Regions from separate parts of the Homo sapiens genome. Here all the other regions are linked to region 3. Evidence: promoter capture Hi-C in human tissues and cell types (Jung and others, 2019). All regions are on one chromosome and are shown on one strand. Each heading gives the region's core, a stretch centred on a gene start or on the middle of the fragment in contact. The rest is flanking DNA. Distances are from core to core; before and after follow the strand shown.

What was found. Contacts are between HindIII fragments. The study calls those that stand out against the background at their distance.
Region 1: a fragment that was not itself captured here is called in contact with the fragment with the promoter of PTPRS in region 3 in 2 of the 25 tissues and cell types used here (IMR-90 fibroblasts and neural progenitor cells).
Region 2: a contact is called between a fragment that was not itself captured here and the fragment with the promoter of PTPRS in region 3, in 1 of the 25 tissues and cell types used here (neural progenitor cells).

What each region holds. Positions count from the first base shown.
Region 1 is chr19:5,582,589-5,586,147 of GRCh38, reverse strand. No RefSeq gene overlaps it. Among named protein-coding and RNA genes, the nearest start is that of TINCR, 16 kb to the right of the region's middle. RefSeq lists enhancers at 1-81, 1-230, 1-270, 250-309. The HindIII fragment of the contact is 4,461 bases long and covers 1-3,559 here.
Region 2 is chr19:5,551,758-5,555,494 of GRCh38, reverse strand. No RefSeq gene overlaps it. Among named protein-coding and RNA genes, the nearest start is that of TINCR, 14 kb to the left of the region's middle. The HindIII fragment of the contact is 4,976 bases long and covers 1-3,737 here.
Region 3 is chr19:5,338,701-5,342,350 of GRCh38, reverse strand. It overlaps PTPRS (protein tyrosine phosphatase receptor type S), which reads left to right and starts at 1,539. Exons shown (of 38, transcript NM_002850.4): 1 at 1,539-1,687. RefSeq lists a silencer at 1,332-1,611 and an enhancer at 3,478-3,650. The HindIII fragment of the contact is 6,208 bases long and covers 1-3,650 here.

The DNA.
Region 1 (3,559 bases), core at 422-2,921, 240 kb before region 3:
GGTGTGGTGTGGTGAGAGTTAACTGGCAGGGCCACCTGCTGGGGACCTCTTTTCCTCCCCTCCGTATCTAGGACAGCCACCCGCAGGCCCCTCCTCCAACTGCCGGTTCTGCTGGAGTTCCCCCCGCCCCCGCTGGGAAGTTAAGTTTTTAAAAAGCCATGTTAAAATCCAGCCCAGCTTGCCACAGACACCAGAGCATGAAAGGCAGGTTGGCCCTGGCCCTCGGCGTCCTGTCTGGGCCTGAGCTGCCGTGAACGCATTCCGGAGCCTCCCCCACGGTGGCGGCTTCTGGAGTCATTTTCCAGTGGCAGGTGGACTGGGCGCCACGCCGCCTCTGTGTTGCACATGGGGTCTTCGCGGCTTGCCTGTCTCCCCGACGAGCCAGAGTCTAGAAATTGGGGTTGAGAGCTTCCCTGTTGGGCAATAAAAGGCAGGCTTAGCCTGCGTTGAGGAGGCAGCCTGGGATTGGGAGCAGGCCCTGTTTTCAGACCTCGGTGTCTCAGATGTCACGGAGCACCCCTTCCTGGAGGTGGGTGTGGCCTCCTGAACTATGAAGCAGGGGCTCAACCACTGCCAGGCTGCTCTATGGGAGCTGGAAAGGGAACCAGTCCCACTGGACATCCTATGGGGGCAGAAGAGCCCTGCCCTTTCCAACGAGCCGGGCCTGGAACCAGCTCTGTTCCACGCAGAAACAAAGCACTCGAGTTACCAGGACGGCTGTCACAAAGCACCATAGACTGCCTAAGGAAGCTCATTGGCTCTCAGTTCTTGAGGCCAGGAGTCTGAGATCTGGGTGTGGGCAGGGCTGTGTCCTTCCCAGGCTCCGTCCTGAGCCTCCTGGCTTCTGACAGCTGCCGAGCACCTCTGGGCATTCCTTGGTTTGTAAAAACATTGCCCAGTCTCGGCCTCCATCCTCATCATGTGGCCTTCTTCCTGCAAGCGTGTTTGTGTCCTGGTTCCCCCCCCCCTCCTTTTTTTTTTTTTTTTTTTTTGGAGACAGTCTCACTCTGTCACTGCTGGAGTGCAGTGGCGAGGATCTGGGCTCACTGCAGCCTCCGCTTCCCAGGTTCAAACGATTCTCCTGCCTCAGCCTCCCAAGTAGCTGGGATTACAGGTGCCTGCCACCACGCCCAGCTAATTTTTGTATTTTTAGTAGAGACGGGGTTCCACCATGTTGGCCAGGCTGGTCTCGAACTCCTGACCTCAAGTGATCCGCCCACCTCGGCCTCCCAAAGTGCTGGGATTACAGGCGTGAGCCACCGCGCCTGGCCTGTTTCTTTAATAATTGAGCATAGGTACGTTATATTAACTCAACTTTTATTTCAAGAGAGAAAAGGTGGGTGGAACAAAATACGTGTTATGAAAAGGAGATGCTGATGGACGTGTGGGTGGTTCCCCCCTTTGGGCAGTTGTGTGTGAATCACGCTGCCGTGAGCATTTATGGATATGTATGTGTTTGAACACCTGTTTTCCATTCTCCTGTGTATATACCTGGGACTGGGATTGCTGGGTCCTATGCTGACTTTGTAACTCCCTGTGTTTTATTTCTGGAAGTATAGCCAGACTTTTCCACAGTGGTGGTACCATTATACATTCCTACTAGCACTATATGAAGATTCCAATTCCCCTTTTTTACGAGACAGGGTCTCGCTGTGTCTCCCAGGCTGGAATGCAGTGGCGCGATCATAGCTCACTGCAGCCTCGAACTCCAGAGCTCAAGCCATCCTCCCACCTTGGCCTCCCAAGTTGCTAGGTCTACAGGCATGAGCCACCATGCCTGGCCTTGGTATACCATTTGGTGGTGAATTTTGTTATGTATCATTTCCCATCGTTTTAAAGACATTTTTAAAGGGGAGGGGGAGCTGTGGGGGCATCACGGGAATGAGAGCCACTGGGGCAGAAACAGGGAGCTTCTTGAGAGCAAGTTTAGGAGCCAACTGCCTGGCACCCAGCCTTCTCACTACCTGCCTGCCCACGGGCAGGTCATTACTGTCTGCTTTAGCTGCTTTAACTGGAAGGAGGGAGTAATCATTGTAGTTGCCATATGGGATCTTTACAAAGATTAGTTAATCCACATAAAAAGCTTGGCATACAGTAAATGCTTAATACATGTTGGCAGGCCCTGGGGAGCCCTACAGGAATAGAGCCTCGGGTGCTCATGTTTCACAGGGGCCCTGGCGAAATGCAATGCCAGAGGTCTGGAGGGGGTCCCGGTGAGGAAATGACCAGCTCCAGCCATACAGAAAGAAAACAGCAGAATCAGAATTAAGACCTTATGGCCTGGCGCGGTGGCTCATGCCTCGAATCCCAGCACTTCTGGAGGCTGAGGCGGGTAGGTCACCTGTGGTCAGGAGTTCGAGACCAGCCTGGCCAACATGGGGAAACCCCCATTTCTACTAAAAATACAAATATTAGCCAGGCATGGTGGTGGGTGCCTGTAATCCCAGCTACTCGAGAGGCTGAGGCAGGAGACTTCTTGAACCCTGGGGGGCGGAGGTTGCAGTGAGCCGAGATCGCGCCACTTCACTCTAGTCCCGGGTGAAAGAGCGAAACTCCATCTCAAAAAAAAAAAAAAAAGAAAGAAAAAGTAGAATTAAGACCTTACGAAATGTCTCCACAGCTACAAAATGTGTCAACTTCACCAATTGCTAAATTTTGTATTCATAAAGATTTCATTACATTTCAAAACAGCTCCTAGGTTAGATTTTCTTATTCCCAAGGAACTCCCAAGCCTCCACGATGATTGCCAGTCTCAAATTGCATGCATGACTCCTAGTCACATAATTTCAAAGGCAAAGTTAGAACAGGGCCTTTTGATTCCAAAAAAACCCAACAACCATAAAGTCGACGTTTAACGGGGATGCCGTGCCTTTTAACAGGTTTGCCGGATTGAGGGGCAGGGCTTCCTTGAGTCCCAGTGACCCACGGGAGAGGTGAGGCTGTTCCTACCTGGTCATACGATGGTGACAAATCAGGGTTCGGATTCTGCTCTCACTGCTGGGTGGGTTCAGACCTCAGCCCTTCAGCCATTTCTTTGGTCAGCTGGGTGGACTAGGAGAGCTTTTCTCTTTGTTTTTTGAGATGAAGCCGTGCCGTGTTGCCCAGGCTGGAGTGCAGTGGCACAATCTTGGCTCACTGCAACCTCCGCTTCCCGGGTTCAAGCGATTCTCCTGCTTCAGCCTCCCAAGTAGCTGGGATTACAGGTACCTGCCACCATGCCTGGCTAGTTTTTGTATTTTTAGTAGAGATGGGGTTTCCCCATGTTGGCCAAGCTGGTCTCAAACTCGTGGCCTCGGGTGATTCTCCTGCCTTGGCTTCCCAAAGTGCTGGGATGACAGGCATGAGCCACCACACCCAGCCACGAATTCCTTCACCTTAATCACATCTGCAAGGTCCCTTTGTCTTGGAGACCAATGTGTTCATAGGTCCCAGGGATTAGGACGTGGGCATCCTTGTCCGTCACCCTGGTGTACAACAGAATCCACTTTGGGAAGCACCTGATGTGCTTACCAGTCAAGCAAGTTAGACATCTCTAGTCCCCCTGGCCAGCCACCAATTT
Region 2 (3,737 bases), core at 174-2,673, 210 kb before region 3:
AAAAACCCGGCCAGGCGCAGTGGCTCACTCCTGTAATCCCAGCACTTTGGGAGGCTGAGGCGGGCAGATCACGAAGTCAAGAGATCGAGACTATTCTGGCCGACATGGTTAAACCCTGTCTCTACTAAAAATATAAAAATTAGCCAGGCGTGGTGGCAGGCGCCTGTAGTCCTAGCTACTTGGGAGGCTGAGGCAGAATTGCTTGAACCCGAGAGGCGGAGGTTGCAGTGAGCCAAGATCACGCCACCGCACTCCAGCCTGGCAACAGAGCGAGACTCCGTCTCAAAAACAAACAAACCAAAAAAAAAAAAAAAAAACAACACAGAGCCGACCACTGACCTTGCAGGGTGATGCACCTGGGGCAGAAGCAGCCTCACTACCACCCCTTGGAGCATCACGGAAACTTATCCATCTCTTTCCTTGGTGGCCCCTGGCTATCCACTGAAGGCTGCTGGCCTCACTATGAGGGCTCCAGGCCTGGCCCTGAGGTCCCCTGACTTGGCACTGACCTCACACTTGTGCTTTAAGCTTCAGACCTACTAAACCCCTTGCTGGGCTCCAGCCACAAGGTTTTTTTCACAGGCTATTTCTTTTCTTTTCTTTCTTTTTTTTCTTTTTTTGAGACAGAGTCTAGCTCTGTTGCCCAGGCTGGAGTGCAATGGCGCTATCTTAGCTCACTGCAACCTCCACCTCCTGGGTTCAAGCGAACCAGGAGGTGAGAATCCTGTCTCAGCCTCCTGAGTAGCTGGGACTACAGGCACACATCGCCATGCCCTGCTAATTTTTGTATTTTTAGTAGAGACGGGGTTTCACCATGTTGGCCAGGCTGGTCTTCAACTCCTGACCTCAGGTGATCCGCCCGCCTTGGCCTCCCAAAGTGCTGTGAGCCACCGCACCCAGCCTGCATGGGCTATTTCTGTATATGAAATACCCTCTCCCAACCTTTCACCTTTCACCCTGTGATTTGCAGGTTCAATGTCACTTCCTTGGGGAGGCCCCCAAAACAAGTTATGTTCCTGTTGTTTTGTATTCTCACAACATCTTGTTCTTTTCCTTTGTAGCATTAATTATTTATATTATTATTCATTCAATGTATGTTTTCCCCACTAGCCTGTGGGCACCATGAAGACGGGGAAGAGGTCTGGTTTGGTCACTGCTGCAGTACACAGCGTTTAATAACCCAGCGCCAGGGAGCGGTGGGGAGCCAGGAACACCTTTGCTCCCTTCCCAGGCTCAATGAGGCCCCCTCTCCACCATAGTTCCTGCCACCACTGGGCCTTGGTCCAGGTGACCAAGGGGCACGGAGGTTTGGGATTGGGATTCCAGGCACTCTGGCTCCTGCCGCCGTGATAAATGGGGAGAATTCAGAATTAATTATCGACTGCTCTGCTGAGCCGGCCTGATCTGGGCAGATAAAGAGCGTGGGCGCCACTGCATCTGCCCAGCGCTTCTCAGAAGTTTATTAGAGGATGGGAGGCAGTTGGCTGATGGGAGGAGTCTGGAATGCATTAGAGCCAGAGCTGCTGGGGGCAAGGCTGTGGCTCTGCTGGGCCACTTGGGGCAACACGCTCTTCCTCTCTGAGCCTTGGTTTTCTCATTTGGAAAAAGGGAAGTAAAAAAGAAAATCCTACCCCAGCAGTTTGGGATGCCAAGGTGGGCGGATCACCTGAGGTCATGAGCTCGAGACCAGCCTGGACAACATGGCGAAACCCTGTCTCTACTAAAAATACAAAAATTAGCTGGGTGTGATGGCGGATGCCTGTGATCCCAGGTACTTGGGAGGCTGAGGCACTAGAATCCCTTGAACCCGGGAGGCGGAAGTTGCTGTGAGCCGAGATTGCACCACTGACCTCTCTGAGCCTTGGTTTTCTCATTTGGAAAAAGGCAAGTAAAAAAAAAAAAAAACAGCCGGGCGCGGTGGCTCACGCCTGTAATCCCAGCACTTTGGGAGGCCAAGGCAGGCGGATCATGAGGTCAGGAGATTGAGACCATTATGGCTAACACGGTGAAACCCATCTCTACTAAAAATACAAAAAAATTAGCCGGGCGTGGCAGCGGGCGCCTGTAGTCCCAGCTACTCCGGAGGCTGAGGCAGGAGAATGGCGTGAACCCGGGAGGCGGAGCTTGCAGTGAGCCGAGATCGCGCCGCTGTACTCCAGCCTGGGCGACAGAGCGAGACTCCGTCTCAAACAAAAAAAAAAAAAGAAAAGAAAAATCCTTATATGTTGAGATAAGTTTTTTGGGGAATCACCAAGAGCAAAGAAAGCAAAGTACACAGTAGGTTTCATGCGTGTCCATGTGAAGAGACCACCAAACAGGCTTTGTGTGAGCAGCATGGCTGTTTATTTCACCTGGGTGCAGGCCGGCTGAGTCCGAAAAGAGAGTCAGCGAAGGGAGATAGGGGTGGGGCCGTTTTATAGGATTTGGGAAGGTAATGGAAAATTACAGTCAAAGGGGGTTGTTCTCTGGTGGGCAGGGGTGGATCTCACAAAGTACATTCTCAAGAGTGGGGAGAATTACAAAGAACCTTCTTAAGGGTGGGGGAGACTACAAAGTACATTGATCAGTTAGGGTGGGGCAGGAACAAATCACAATGGTGGAATATCACCAGTTAAGGCTGTTTTTACTTCTTTTGTGGATCTGCAGTTACTTCAGGCCATCTGGATGTATACGTGCAAGTCACAGGGGATGCGATGACCTGGCCTGGGCTCAGAGGCCTGACATTCCTGCCTTCTTATATTAATAAGACAAATAAAACAAAATAGTGTTGAAGTGTTGCAGCGGCGAAAATTTTTGGGGGGTGGTATGGAGAGAGAACGGGCGATGTTTCTCAGGGCTGCTTCGAGCGGGATTAGGGGCGGCGTGGGAACCTAGAGTGGGAGAGATTAAGCTGAAGGGAGGTCTTGTGGTAAGGGGTGATATTGTGGGGATGTTAGAAGAAACATTTGTCGTATAGAATGATTGGTGATGGCCTGGATACGGTTTTCAATGAACTGAGAAGCTAAACGGAAGATAGAAGGTCTGAAGAAAAGGAGGAGAAAAATGGGTATTAAAGGACTAAGAATTGGGAGGGCCCAGGACATCCAATTAGAGAGTGCCCAAGGGGGTTCAGCGTAATTACTTTCTTGGTTGGCAAGTTTTTGGGCTCTATCCTTGAGTTTTTTTATGTTGTCATACACCAGGCCAGATTGATTTAGGTAAAAACAACACTCCTCATTTAAGAATATGCAGAGTCCTCCTTTTTCAGCAGTAAGTCAGTCAAGGCCTCGGTGGTTTTGGAGGACAACTGCAGCTAAAGAGTCAACTTGGGCCTGGAGGACTGATAAAGTTTGTGATTTTGAGGGCCTCTAAAAGTATTAAAGCAGCAGCAGCCGCTGCACGCAGACATGAGGGCTAGGTTAAAACAGTAAGGTCAAGTTGTTTGGACAGAAAGGCTACAGGGTGTGGTCCTGGCTCTTGTGTAAGAATTCCGACCACGCTAACCATGCCTAGGAAGGAAAGGAGTTGTTGTTTTGTAGGTGCTGGGGTTTGAGAGGTCAGTCGGACACGATTGGCAGGGAAAGCACGTGTGTTTTTGAGAATTATGCCGAGATAGGTAACAGATGAGGAAGAAATTTGTGCTTGATTGAAGTAATGGGGGCTGTCTGTGAAGCTTTGCAGCAGTACAGCCTTGGTAATTTGCTGAGCCTAATGGGTGTCAGGGTCAGTCTAAGTGAAAGCAAAGAGAGGCTGGGACG
Region 3 (3,650 bases), core at 290-2,789:
CAAAGTGCTGGGATTACAGGCATGAGTCACCGGGCCCGGCCTCTTTTCTCTTATTATTCCATCTTCAGGCACCAATGGCAGCCAGGCTGCCACATTATAGCAATTCATCATCACACCCTCCTTAGGAGCAGGGGCTACCTTGCCCCATTTTACAGATGAGAGCTGAGATCCAGAGGCAAATCCATTCTACAGATGGGGAAAGTGAGGCTCCGGGCCTCACACAGCAAATCAGTGTTTTAGCTGGGTTCCAACTGTGGCTCGTCCTGACTCCAGGGAAGCAGGGGATGGTAATTAGGTGAGACCTGTGTAAAGTGCTTACTCTATAAGAAGTGCTCCATCATCCATTCATTCATGTGTTCAACCTACAATAGGGATCTCTGGAGCCACACTGTAGTGTAACTAGAATAAAAACGGGATAATGGGACCAGGCGCGGTGGCTCACGCCTGTAATCCCAGCACTTTGGGAGGCCGAGGTGGACGGATCACTGAGGTCAGGAGTTCAAGACCAGCCTGGCCAACATGGTGAAACACTGTCTCTAACAAAAATACAAAAATTAGCCAGGCGTGGTGACAGCACGCCTGTAATTCCAGCTACTCCGGAGGCTGAGACAGGAGAATAGCTTGAATCCAGGAGGCGGAGGTTACAGTGAGCCGCGATCACGCCACTGCATTCCAGCCTGGGCGACAGAGTGAGACTCCGACTCAAAACCAAACAAACAACAACAACAACAACAAACCGGGATAATGGGATAGAGTGGAGTGGGGCGTGGCTGGTAGCTGTTGTCAGGGAGGGCTTCTCCCAGGCGCTGCTTATTTGAGCAGAAATTGGAAAGATGAGAAGGGGAAGTTCTTGGATGCTCAAGTTAGAGGAACTGTAAGAAGCTGGCTGAGGCGGGAGGATCACCCGAGCCCAACTACTCAGGAGGCTGAGGCGGGAGGATCACCTGAGCCCAGGAGTTTGAAGCTGCAGTGAGCTATGATCATACCACTGTACTGAGGCCCAGGTGGCAGACCCCATCTCTGAAAAAGCAAAGAAGGAGCAGCTGGTTTTTCTGGATCATTGACATGGTGGGGGGGAGGGGACAGGGTAGTGGGCGCTAATGTGAAACGGCGAGCTGCAGAGAGGAGGCGGGATTTTATTCCAAGGGTACTGGGGAGCCGTGGCACAGTTTAGGGCAGCGCACAGAAAGTGCCATGCCCTTTGCACCCAGGACGCTGGGGCTCCCGCACGGACAGTAGCCCCAGGGGCCCTTCCCGCCGCCGCCGCAGCCGCCACCACCACCACCACCCCAGCCGCCCACGTGTCCCGCGAAGCCCCGCGCCCCACGTGCTCCCGCGGCCCTTTAAACACCCCGGAGCCACGTGACCGCGCTGCGCCGTCCCATTGGCCGGGGGGCGTGGCGGCCGCGCGGCTGCGCAGTGACGCGCACGGGCCGGCCCTGCCCCCGACCCGGCGGCGGCGGCGGCGGCGCTGGCGGAAGGGATGACGTCACCGGCTGGGGGGGCGCGCGAGCGGGAGCTAGGGGAGCGCGAGCCGCAGTGAGTGTCCTCGCGCCGCCCGCCCGGCAGCCCGGCCGGCGCGCGCACGCCGCGAGCCGCTGGCGCTCGGGCTCCGCTCGGATCCCATGCAACAGCCACGATGTGAAGCGGGGCAGAGCCGGGGGAGCCCAGCCCAGCCAGCCTCCAGGTAAAGCCAAAAAAAAAAATAAAATCATGGATTAGAGGAAAAAAAAATGCAGGCGCTCCAAGGGGGGTCTCGGAGGCAGCCGAGTGGGCAGCGCGCCGGCTTTGTGCCGGGGAAGCCTGCACGGCCATTGTGCTCGGAGGATGCTCGGCTGCAGCCAGTTGCACGCCCAGCCGCTGCGCCCCGGTAGCTGCGCCCGGACAATGCCCCGAGGGACAGGGCCGGGGCCGCGCTGGGGGCGCTCGGCAGGGGGTGCTGGGGGGGCTTCGTCCGCGGCGTGGGAGGGGGCTGGGCTGGAAGCGCCCAGAGCGCGGCATTGGAAGCTGCCCAGCGCCGCCGGCTGCACCACCCCGGGCTGCGGGCGGGGCAGAGGCGCGGAGGGGGGCGCGCGTGTGTGCGGAGCCGGTGCCGGCCCCGGCGGCGCCCGGCCCGGGTCCCCGGGCGGGTCCTGGAGGCAGGGGGCGCTGTGCCGGGGGATGGGGGGCATGCGGGCGCCCCGGAGCGGAGAGGAGCCGGGACGGGTGGCTCCAGGCGGGGTGGCTCCAGGGCTGCTGCGCCCGCCGCCTTCCCTCTCCGGGTCTCCCTCCCCTGGAGACCCCCTAGTCTACGCCGTCTCCCCTGGAACACTCCGGGCCCTGTCGTTGCCTTATGGGAGGTCGCCCCTCCGGCACTCGGGCATTGCCCCACCCTTCTGCGGCCTCGGCGCCCCCTTCCAGCCTCCCCACCCAGGGGCGAGCCTCAGCCCCCAGCCCCAGGGGCTCTGGCAGGCAGACGCGCACGCCCAGCACCCCAGTCTCCCCTCCGCGCTGGGGGCCCCGTGGGGATCCCGAGAGTGGGGAAGCCGCCCCTGGAACCGCCAGCCCCGCGGGTTCCGCACGCCCCGGGAGCCCCCGGGGGCTGCGGGGGGAGGGGAGGTGACGTCATACCGGGGGCGGGGCCGTCGGCACTGGGTTAAAGGGGGCGCGGGGCGTGCCCTGAGGGGAGCCCCCCAGGTTAGAGTGCCCGCGCCGTGGGTGCGAGGGTTCGGCCAGGTTGCGGCCAAGTTCACCTCTCTTTATGGGAATCTCTCCTAAAATTAAGATCCTCCCCTTCGGACCTCCCCCTACAAATCCTGGACATTTCCCACCAATTCCCCCCCTTCCCAAATTGGGGAACTCCCCTTCGGCCGCTTTCTCTCCAGAATCCTCAAATCAGGGAACCTTTCCCACAAACTGGGAATCTTTTTTTCAGCCACACCCCCCGCCCCAAATCTGGGACCTCCTTCTTCGGTTGACCCTCTTTCCCCAGTCTCAAATCGTCTTCTCGTCTCCCTAAATATGCAGCTTCCAAGAACGCCCCTTCCTCTGCAACCCTTCCTCAAATCCAGCCACCTCCTGGGACCTCATTCCCCCAAATTAACAAACCTCCCAGAGCCTCATTGGGGGTGCCTTGCCTCCCCCTTCTGGGCTCAGCTGGGATTCCCCTGTCCCCCCCCGTCACAATCTAGGGGAGCCCCCTTCTGAGCATGGGGTCCTCCTGCCTCTGGCCGAGACCCTAAAAACACATCCCGGCAGCCGCGGCTAGTGAAGCGGGTGTCCGAGGTGTCGGAGTCCCGGCTGAGCAGCAGGGATGATACCTAGAAGCCGGAGGAGGCAGGAAGAGACCCCTAGGGTCCCAAGGACAGGGACCCACACGCTCCGGGCTCCCGTCCGCCACCACCCGGACTTTGGCTGCTGGGATTCTGGCCTCCTCTGGGTGGCCCCCTATCGCTGCTGTCCTTGGGGTGCAGAGGGTGACGGCGCCTCTTTGTCTGGGGCGCCCTTCTTCCCTCTTTCTGCCGCCTTTCGCCCGGGAGAAGGAAGCCATCCCGCTCCTCTGCTCCTGCGATACCAGCGGCAGCTGCTGGAGCGTTTATTAATGGCCCAGGGACTTGGTCGAATCTGCCATTTGCATAAGTCCCCTCCCCCTCCCAGGGTCCCTTCCTTTG